2 separate regions of the Homo sapiens genome follow, and region 1 is linked to region 2. Evidence: promoter capture Hi-C in human tissues and cell types (Jung and others, 2019). All regions are on one chromosome and are shown on one strand. Each heading gives the region's core, a stretch centred on a gene start or on the middle of the fragment in contact. The rest is flanking DNA. Distances are from core to core; before and after follow the strand shown.

Region 1 (5,453 bases), core at 631-3,130, 600 kb before region 2:
TCTCCATTCCCATAGACCTCAACAACTGCTTGAATTCCTGCTTGACTCCTTGTCTCCAGTATTTGAAATCTTCCTTGCATATGACTTCCTCATTACCTTCCTAAAATCTAGTTCACTCACCTACTCAAGAATCTACAGGGGCCGACTCTGGCCTATTAGATAAGTTTACATTTCTTCTCTTTACTAATCCTTCTTACTTCCTTTACCACCACTCCCTTATATAATTCCTCTATCCTAATTACATCTGTCTCCCTACATATGCCTGCCCACCCATGCCATATACACAAGGGATTATTAGTTCAAATTGTATGCCTAAAACAGGGTGACCGCCCTCCATCATCTGCACTGCAAAGTTACCCACAGCCTTCATCACAAGCAACCTCTGACCTCATGGAGAACAATGACTCTAGCATTAATGTGTGAATCTAAGACTTAGGACACAATATACATGTGGTTGGGAAGCTTTCCCTGATAACCAATTTATGTGTTCATGAAAAATACAGAAATGAAGAAGGCAAGGTCCCTACCCCAGGGATCATAAAGCCTAAGACACAAGATAGGACCTTAAAAGTAATTATAAACTCCGGCCCTGGACCCTACAGCCACCAAGATGTTAATGCCTAAGAAGAGTCGGATTGCCATTTATGAACTTTTTTTTTTTTTTTTTTTTTTTGAGACAGAGTCTGACTCTGTCGCCCAGGCTGGAGTGCAGTGGAGTGATCTGGGCTCACGGCAAGCTCCGCCTCCCAGGTTCACGCCATTCTCCCTCCTCAGCCTCCCGAGTAGCTGGGACTACAGGCGCCCGCCACCACGCTCGGCTAATTTTGTTTTTGTATTTTTAGTAGAGACGGGGTTTCACTGTGTTAGCCAGGATGATCTCGATCTCCTGACCTCGAGATCCACCTGCCTTGGCCTCCCAAAGTACTGGGATTACAGGTGTGAGCCACGGCGCCCAGCCATGAACTCCTTTTTAAGGAAGGAGTCACGGTGGCTAAGAAGGATGTCCACATGCCTAAGCACCCGGAGCTGGCAGACAAGAATGTGCCCAACCTTCATGTCATGAAGGCCATGCAGTCTCTCAAGTCCTGAGACTACGTGAAGGAACAGTTTGCCTGGAGACATTTCTACTGGTACCTTACCAATGAAGGCATCCAGTATCTCCGTGATTATCTTCATCTGCCCCTGGAGATTGTGCCTGCCACCCTACGCCACAACCGTCCAGAGACTGGCAGGCCTCCGCCTAAAGGTCTGGAGGGTGAGCCACCTGCAAGACTCAAAAGAGAGGAAACCGACAGAGATACCTACAGACGGAGTGCTGTGCCCCCTGGTGCCGACAAGAAAACCGAGGCTGGGGCCGGGTCAGCAACCAAATTCCAGTTTAGAGGCGGATTTGGATGTGGACGTGGTCAACCACCTCAGAAAAATTGGAGAGGATTATTTTGCATTGAATAAACCTACAGCCAAAAAGAAAAAAAAAGTAATTATAATACCAAAATAGAACAAAATGAATGCCACAAGAATTCAGATAAATCTGATGGGAAATACAGCCACACATTGGAATCACAGGGAAACATTTTTTAAAAATGGATGCTGAAGCCCTCACTCCCCATACCTTCTGATTTAGTGGTCTGGCGTGGGACCCAGGCATTGATAATTTTTAAGCTTCCCCAGATGCTACTAATGTGTAACCAGGATGGTGAACTCTCCTGTTTAAATAGGTAGGACGTAGGGCTAAATTAATGGTTTTTAGCTAGATGACCTAGGGAGGTTTTTCAACATACATAAGCCTATACTTTGTTGGCCATATTTGTTAATGGGCTACACCGAGAACTCAGTAATCCAGTTAAGAAACACAAGCTAAATGGAAAAGCCACTTTATTTGATATGTTAAATTATATGGGAAGCATTGTCAAATGATAAGTTTGTGAGGTCATCAACTTCTTGTCCTGGTTTGCAGTTAAGTGCCTCTAGTTATGGTGTCAAATATTTTGGTGAGCTCTGAGTGGCCCATACCTCAGACATGAAGGTTTTCCCATGAAATTTACATTGAGTTGTCCCCCTCCAGCTTATAGGGCTTCAGGAACACAGCAGATCTTGTTCTTACTGATTCCATAGGAGAAATTGGGTTGGAGAAACTAGAAGAATTCAGGGTCCAGTCCAGTCTACAGGTGGATTATAAAAACTCAAAAACAATGAACAGAGCTGAAATCTCATAAAAGTTGTGCTACAGTTTTTCTTCTCAACATAATTTTTCTCTCTATGGGCATCTCTATTTCTACCAAAGATAATACCACTAAGGCAAATTTGTTTGCAAAATAGATTGAGTCTCATCAAACTTGGCGTGTATTCTCAATGTTAATTTATGGGTATGTTACTGATATGAGTCTTCCAAAAATTATATGAGATTCATAGAAATCTAATATCAGTCATAATGTCATATGCCACAGAAGCAACTAGATTTCTATATGAGCCATGTCTTTATCTTAATGAACGCTCATCAGATTTTTAACCATAGTTATTTTAAATCTGTCATTCATAGACAGTTGTTTTGATTCTTCCTCAAAGTATTTCCAATCAGCTACAGTCCAAAATTGCTTCTTGCTTCAAGGAGATTTACAGAAAAGGCTCTGACAAGGATTCTTTAATACAAGTTTTTGATGAATTTAAGATACCACTGGACTGTCTAAGAACTTCCAAGTTCTTCTGATACCTTCATGAAATTGCCAGCCAAGACCAAGCAGGAAAAAACTCAATTTCATTGGACTAAATAATAATAATGATGAGAATGTTTTTATGATTTTTTGTTTGGAGTTTTGCTGATTCTTTAAGTGGTTTGTTTTCCAGATTTATGGAATTTTTTCTTTTAACCAATCTATAGCACACAGTAATTTGACAAAGTATACTTTTGTGAACAAAAATTGAAGCATTTACTTTTGCTCCCTACCTGACTGCCTTAGAATTGGGCAACTATTCATGAGTATTCATATGTTTATGGTAATACAGATATTTGCTTAAGTTCAATAAATATCTGCTCTCTTTATAACAGGATACATTTGAAAACATTGGTTATATTACCAAGGCTTTGACTGGGATATTACATTTGAAAATATAAATAGAATGAAACCACAGATACTGCAGGCAAGTGTAAAGTAAGCCTTGGTTTGGCTTCCTGGTCTCAAGAGGTTTTTGAAAGTTTAATCTGAGATTCCTTATAAAAAATATCCAGCAAAGCAAAGTTTAAGAAGAGCCTATGTGATCCATTACAACTCTTTCTGCACTTAATGTAAAGGCCAAGTTTGATGAGACTCAATCTATTTTGCAAACAAATTTGCCTTAGTGGTATTATCTTTGGTAGAAATAGAGATGCCCATAGAGAGAAAAATTATGTTGAGAAGAAAAACTGTAGCACAACTTTTATGAGATTTCAGCTCTGTTCATTGTTTTTGAGTTTTTATAATCCACCTGTAGACTGGACTGGACCCTGAATTCTTCTAGTTTCTCCAACCCAATTTCTCCTATGGAATCAGTAAGAACAAGATCTGCTGTGTTCCTGAAGCCCTATAAGCTGGAGGGGGACAACTCAATGTAAATTTCATGGGAAAACCTTCATGTCTGAGGTATGGGCCACTCAGAGCTCACCAAAATATTTGACACCATAACTAGAGGCACTTAACTGCAAACCAGGACAAGAAGTTGATGACCTCACACTGTGGACAGCTTTTCCCAAGATGTCAAAACAAGACTCCCCTTCCTGATGAGGCTCTTGCCCCTCTTAATTTGTCCTTGCTCATGTCTGCCTCTTTTTCTTGGTGAGATAATGCTGTCATTAGAATTTCACAAGAAGTATCTTCTGAGGGTAGCTTAACAGAGTGTTGAATCTGGGATGAATTCATTCCCTTATTTCCACATAACATAAGAGATCCTTTAGTCTACCCAATGGCTGACATTAGCAGCATCTTTTTTTTCCTTCAGCAATAACCACTTTTAATGATTTAGTGTATATTTTTATAATCATAAATTTTACTTGTTTGAACAGGTAATGCATTAACAGTACAAATTTCAACAGGTAGAAAAGCGTATACTGAAAGTGTCCCTCATAACACCTATCCCTCCTCCATCCTATCACCTGGTTTCCCTCTGCAGAGGCAACCAGGAATATCTGTTTCTTATGTCTTATCCAGACATATTCTATGTGTTAGGTTGGTGCAAAAGCAATTGCGGTTTTGCCCGTACTTTTAATGGCAAAAACCACAATTACTTTTGCACCAACCTAATATTTACAAGCACATTGGAAGGCAGCTATGCTCCCCACTATACCACCAACACATCTTATAAGCACATTGGTCTAGTCTTTCTTCTTTTTTTCAAAAGTAAATGGTAAACATTTGAGGCACACTGTTTGCATCTGGCTTCTTCATTTAACAATACATCTTGCAGGTCATTCCACATCAGGATATAAAAAATCTCTTAGTCTTTTAACAGCTGTATACTTGTCTTAGTCCATTTTATGTTGCTATAGCAAAATACCTGAGACTGGGTAGCTTATAAAGAAAACAGGTTTATATGGCTTATGATTCTGGTGGCTGTAAAGTTCAAAATTGGGCATCTGCCTCTGGTGAGAGCCTCAGGCTCATTAGCAGCATCTTTAACACAGCTGTTTTTTCAGATGTACAGTGGTCCCTTTTAGACTTTAGACCTTCAGACTCACCTGTTCTCACTCCCTGTTTAATTTAACCCAGCCATGGGATGCTAGTTAATAAATTGGCCACTACTAGCTGAACAGGAAGGAGTCTGTGCAGTTTCTGACACTTCTTGTTGCACATGGATAAATACGTCGGATATTATAGAGACTTAGTTGCAAAAATTAACAAATGTGCTGCTTGGTTAAAATGGCTAGGCTCTTCTGGCTCACTCTTTGATGTGTTCTATTTTAGTTGGTTTGCATCTTGCCTAAGGTGCATATTCCAAACTCTTGGTATTATCTTCCTGATAGTCATATTAGTAGTCTCCTGGTGTGTTGTATTCTGTTGTATTCTCCAAAAGTTTTTAAATGTTTGCATGCAGCCATCCATTGAATATCAAATAGTGTCTCTTTGGCTGGAGTTACAAAAACTCAAAGAAATGTGTGATCAGGAGGACATTATAACCTATGAATGATGGAAGCCCAAAATGATGGTGATAGAAAGGATTGCTAATGTCTTAAGTTCTGGTCCCTTAGTGAGGTCCTAGAGACTCCAAAACAGAGCCACTCATGCTAAATGCTACATACTCCGACTGAAATTTTAAGGAAGCAGACAGATTCCAAAACAGACCATTTTTTTTTCTGAGAACAGGAGATTCCAGTCTACCTGAGTCAGCATAATAAGGAAGTCACCTCTGCTTTAACTTTTACAAAAAAAGTGACCTGAAGTACATTGATGTTAACCAATCCATTTCTTTTTTTTTTTAACTTC
Region 2 (5,780 bases), core at 3,039-5,538:
GAACTGAATTCTGCTAAAATGTTGTCACAGTTTCTATAATCCCTGACTGCTCCGATGTCATTTGGCAAGAGTTTACAAAATTTGTAACTAATTGCTCCTATAGATAACATCACTATTGTAGAACGTGAGATTGGTCTTTTGAGATGTTTCTCATTCTTTTGCATTCTGGCAACCGGCTGACCTCATCCATACCTATGACTAATGGCTCAGTCAGTCATGTGGCCCCTACCTGGAGGCAGATTCAAGCACAAACAAATCATTTCCCTCCGGCCGCATGATTCCATCACCAAACAATCAGCAGTACTCATTTTTTAGTCCTGTGCCCCTGAAACGATCCTTGAAAATCTCTAACCCCTGATCCACTGGGGAGGCTGATTTGAGTAATAATAAACATCCGTCCTCCTGTTTGGCAGACTTGGAGTCATTAAAATCTTTCTCCGACTACAGACCACCATTTCAATAATTTTTTTTGTGTGTGTGTGCAGGAGGCCAGAAGAACTTGTCTGGCAATTATGAGTGGATGGAGGAACTGCCTATCCCTGTCCCATGTTCTTGTCCACAGGTCAGACTGACAAAGGGAAAGAGCCATGGATGGGAATACAGTGGAATATTTCTCTTAGTGACCTGGGGACATTGGCTGGAGATGAAGCCAGGCAGGAGTGGCAACTCCAGGTGATTTCTGTGCCTTTCCTATTTCCTGGGAGGTGGGCCAGGCCACAGTGTTAGTAGGAAGGGAACCGAACAGCCAGCCTAGTTAGAGGGAATGTCTGGGGAAGGCCTAGGGGTGGGGGAAGAAGCTGTGCAGGACAGGGCTTGCCAGTCAGAATGAAGTGGGAGGAAGATGAGGGACACAGAGAAGCAGAGAGAGGCAGAGACACCATGGCAGTGAGCAGTGAGGGAGACACTGACTTCAGAGACCCCAGGGCCCAGGTGCCCCCAGTTCCACAGTCCAGGACCAAGGAGCCCTGAGAACCCTCCGGTGGCCAAAGAGCTTCAGAGTTACATGAGGTGGGGTGGCTTTAGGGGCAAGAGGTAGTGGGGGGATGAAACGTGGGTGTCAGCCTCTGAAGGACAAGGGACAGGTGTGGCTAGAACCTCCTAGGATTCTGCATGCAAATTCAGTCTCTAAAGAGGTTTTGGATCATTCATTTCTTCATTCAAGTTCTTCATTCATTATGTGAGAGCTCCTGAGTGTGTGTCTCTCGCTGGGCCTGTGCTGGTGTAGGGTGTGAGTGGGGAAAGAAAACAAGGTCCTCTCCTTGATCCTCTCATGACAGTGACATGGACACTTTGGGAAACACAGGATTTCACGTTCAGTGATGGGGGTTAAGATCTGAGGGGGAGGCCTGGACATATTTTTTGCACTGACTCTGATGGTTGAGGCAGGTGATTTAGTTCTGGAATACAGACTAATCAGCTGACCATTTGCTCTCACTCCTCTGAGGTTTGGATGCCTAAGAAGAGAGGATTTGAGCCAATAAATGACTATGGGGTCCTTGGAACCCAGTAAGCCCTCACTTCTGGTGGAGGAGAGGATAGGCCTGTGGCTGCAGACAGACCTCATGTGACCCTGATCTCCCCTTTGTGTTTGTGTGACTCTGGTTCAGTGACTGCACCTTCCTGTGCCTCAGTTTTCTCTCAATCAAATAAACTAAATGGCAAATGGACTGTGGCTTTTCATGCTATCTGTGAATAAATGTTAAATGATTCACAGTCACCTGACCTAATGCTTGGCACAGTGGAGGTTTCACACAAGCAGCATTTATTATTAATTTGCTTCCATGAGAAAGCACCTTATGTCAGATCCCTGTGGACAAGCTGCTACCAGGTACATCTTCTCCCTTCTGTTTCTGCTTCTGGGGACATTAGACTTTCTATGGACTGTCCTAAGCCTCCCAAGGCAGTTGGCTGATGTCCTACAAAGCTTGTCTTTCTGTCCTCTCCACTCTGAGTGTCAGCTGAAAAAGCTCTGTCCTTGCCCAGATGAGACTCTGAGGGCTGAGCCCTGGCTGGTGAACAGCTCCAGGAGACACAGTCCTCAGACAGCTGGTAAATTCTTGGTCCCAGTAAGGCCTGCCCAAGAAGCCACAACCCAGCACTGGCACAGGCTCCTCAGCTTAACTGGAGCAAGGATTTAGGGACAGGGGTCTGGGGTTGAGGCTTCTAGGGCTGAGCTTCTCTGAGAGTATCTCAGGGGTCCCCTCAAGCCAAGCCCTACTCAGTTCTCCAGGGTCTTTCTCAGGGTCAAATTTATGAAGAGGGCATGATGTGCTTGGCTGAGACTGATCTCCTCCTGCTGAGTCCCCCCATCAGACTGTCCTTCCTCTGCAGCGAGTGTCTGCAGGGTCTGGATGCGGGAAAGGAATTCTGATCTGTTGAAATTTGTCTCCTCTGTGTGTGTCCTGCACTAAATGCCCAAACCCCAGCATGGGACATAATGCAGAGAGTGACACAGGCAGAGTCCAGGCCTGACAATCCTGTGTGTGTGAAGTAGAAATGACCCCTTCCCCCCAACACCCAGGGATCATGTGGAATCACTCACAGTATAAGGTGAAGGTGAAATGTCGAATTTCTTCTCTAGTCTCATCACCTCGCTTTATGATGTGTAAGGTGTAGGTTCCTGCATCCTTCCGGGTGACATTCTGGATCAGCAGGGATGCGTTGGAATATACTGTTTCTCTTCCACTGTATGCAGGCCCATATATAATTATTTTACCATCAACTATATACGATATAATGTAATGGTAGAGGTCCGTCATTTCCCCTTTGTACCAGAAGTAGCCAGGAAGATTCTGGGGCAAATTGTGGACAAGTAGAAGAACATCCTTCCCCTCAGAAACTTTGGGTGGCTGGGCTTCAATCGTGACTTCGGCAGTGGTGGGCGGGTTCCAGAAGTTTAAAAGTGATGCTAGGAGGGGGAGACAGCATCAGTTAATATTGAGACCTATGTATTGTGGTGAAAAGATGGGGCCCTGGGTCCTGAGAAGGTCTCTTCCATCCTCAGCCTTGAAGATACACACACGCACACATACAAACAAACACACACAAAAAACGGGCATGTGTGTTTGTGTATGTGTATGTGTGTGTGTCCTACTGTCCTACTAGGTCAAGGTCAGCAGCATGACCCCCATTCCTTCAACACTTCTGACCTTGGCATTTTTCTGTTTGGAATCCTCTTCCCCAGGGGTCCACACGGCCCCCTCCACACTGCCCTCAGGTCCTGCTCACATCAGGGCATCCTTAGACTTCTTTCCTGACACCTCCTTCAGAGACCCTGGGTCTTCCCTTTCTGACCTTTCCCTGCTCTGCTCCCTCCAGGGTTCTTGTCAACACCTGATCTCACATTCTACATCTCTTCGCATGTCTGTCTTCCTCCCCATGACAGCGTGAGCTCCGTGAGGACAGGGACTTTTGTGATCCTGGTTGCACCCCAGTGCCTGGGACAGGCTGCAGACTCCTGTAGATGTGAGAGTTCTCAGGGCCCTCCATGCCCTGGGTGTTTTTTTTTCCCCCAATTGTTGAGGTTTTTTGCTGAGGATAGTGTTTCATGTCCTGCTTATATTTTTATTTGAAGTGTCATCTGATATAGTTATTATTATCATTTTTCAAAATGTGGTGGCCCCGGATGATTAATCAGGAAAACAGAACACTTAAGATTTTCCTACCTCTTACCAATTCCGGTTCAATGTGACTTTCCTCTTTTGACCCCTGTCCCTCTCTGGTGTATTTTCCCCTATCCAGGCTGCAACAGAGCCTTCTTTCCTTTTTTTCTTTTTTTTTTGAGACGGAGTCTCGTACTGTCGCCCAGGCTGGCGTGCAGTGGCGGTATCTCGGCTAGCTGCAACTTCTGCCTCCCGGGTTCACATGATTCTCCCACCTCAGCCTCCCGAGTAGCTAGGATTACAGGAGTACACCACCATACCTGGTTAATTTTTTATATTTTTAGGAGAGACTGGGCTTCACTGCATTGGCCGGACTGATCTTGAACTCCTGATCTCGTGATCCACCCACCTCAGCCTCCCTAAGAGCTGGCTTCTTTTATTTTACAACCCCATCCTCTCCAGGAGACCCCATCCAGTCACTCCGCTTCCTCCCCCTGTCCTCTCCCAGGAAGTTCTCTCCTCACCTGTGAGCAGGAGCCCCTTCCAGGTGATGCGCTGTGTGCAGGAAGGGGCTGGGAGGGGCCCCATGGTCTCTGCTGCCTGTGTGTTCTCCTCTGTGGAGATGAGCCTGGGATCCAGAAGCTGTCTGAGCACGGCTGTCAGCTGTGCTGTCCTTCCTCCTTCTGTGCTGAGCCTCTTCCCGGGGCAGGAGCACTTCTCAAGCTCATGGGCGGGGTCAGTCCCAGGACACCTCTCTGTCCCCTTCTCTCTCAGTCCTGCCTCCTTGTCCCTCCTTCTGTTTTTCCTTTTGTCTGTGTTTCAGGTCCCTGGGAGTTGTGGAGGCCTCTGCCTTTTTCAGCAGTGATTCTTTCACCAAACCTCAACACACACTTTGTGCAGACACACACACACACACACACACACACACACACACACAGAAGAGACACACACAGACCCACACAGTCAGGCACATACCCTGCAGGTTGGGCAAGCACAGTCCTGGGCCTCAGCCTCCTGCTGTCCCCATGGCTCTGGGTTGGGGTGCACATTCATGCCTTTTACCCTCTTTCATCCCCATCTGGCTCTCCCCTTCAGTGCAGGAGGCTGGAGATGCACCAGGTCCCTGTCACAGTGACACCCCATTGTGCTGTGGGTGAGCTGTGTGTTGCCTGGTGAGAGGGACCCTTCCTTTCTCTAATCGTGTCAAGCTTGACTGCAGCTTCCAAGGATGGACTTTCAGGACCTGGGTGTCCCAGAGGAAACTGTCCTTCCTGGAGGTGTGCAGGGTGAATCTCTCATGCCTCTTAGGAGGAGAGGCCTGTGCTGGTTGCTCAGTGGGGGCTGTGAGTCCCATAGTCAAAGGGACAGTTCTCTGTCAGTCTATGGCTCCCTGGGGTCTGGCGGCTGAGCTGGAGCTCAGGGTTTCTCATGTTCTCCCTGACCATCTTTGATGTCCTCTCTTCTCTGCCCAGCTGATTGTCCTGTGGTCACCACACCTTCCCCGTGGTGGTGCAGGAGGAAGTGGGGAGTTACCCAGGAACCCCGCGGGACATGGCTCATTGAGACGCAGGAGGGGGAGCCTGGGACAGAGCAGGGGTTCAGAGCTGGAGAGATTCATCCCGACTTACTCCGTGGCCATGATGGGCTCAGCCCTCCATGTGCTGACACACCCAGGGGTCTGTCCTGAGGGTTTTGACCTGGCCAAGCTGCTGTCTGTAGAGGAGGAACAGGCAGTGACCAGAGAGGCTCTCTGGAGGGACGTTGCTCACACCTGAGAGGGCGGGTGGGGGTGAGTTGTGTTCTGGGAGCAAAGAGCAATAACACCGCCCTTCTCCACGCAAGTACACAGGAGAGGTCTGTCTTCCCAAGGGACAGCTGGGGGTAGGTGGCCACATCCCGGATGGTACCTGTGAATGACCATCACACGCTCTCTGAGCCCCCTGGGGTGCAGGGGGCAGGCAGGTGACAGGGTGCCTGGCTGATTCCCGGGGAGGCTGTGGGCCCTCAGGCAGCCGCTGTTCTGTGTCGGCGCTAGGCTTGGCCTGGGAAGCCCCAGAGAACAGGACAGATGGAGCAGGGGCAGGCATTTAGGGAGCAGTGACAGAAAGAGTTGATGAGGATGGAGAGAGTTCACGAGGGGAAAGCGCCCAGTGTGGCGTCGCGTGCACCAGCGCTGCC

The links. Contacts are between HindIII fragments. The study calls those that stand out against the background at their distance.
Region 1: a contact is called between a fragment that was not itself captured here and the fragment with the promoter of PSG9 in region 2, in 4 of the 25 tissues and cell types used here (heart left ventricle, mesendoderm cells, stomach and 1 more).

The regions. Positions count from the first base shown.
Region 1 is chr19:42,669,395-42,674,847 of GRCh38, forward strand. It overlaps the pseudogene RPS10P28. Among named protein-coding and RNA genes, the nearest start is that of PSG3, 68 kb to the right of the region's middle. The HindIII fragment of the contact is 6,603 bases long and covers 1-5,182 here.
Region 2 is chr19:43,265,242-43,271,021 of GRCh38, forward strand. It overlaps PSG9 (pregnancy specific beta-1-glycoprotein 9), which reads right to left and starts at 4,289. Exons shown (of 6, transcript NM_002784.5): 1 at 4,127-4,289; 2 at 2,543-2,908. The coding sequence starts at 4,190. The HindIII fragment of the contact is 8,927 bases long and covers 760-5,780 here.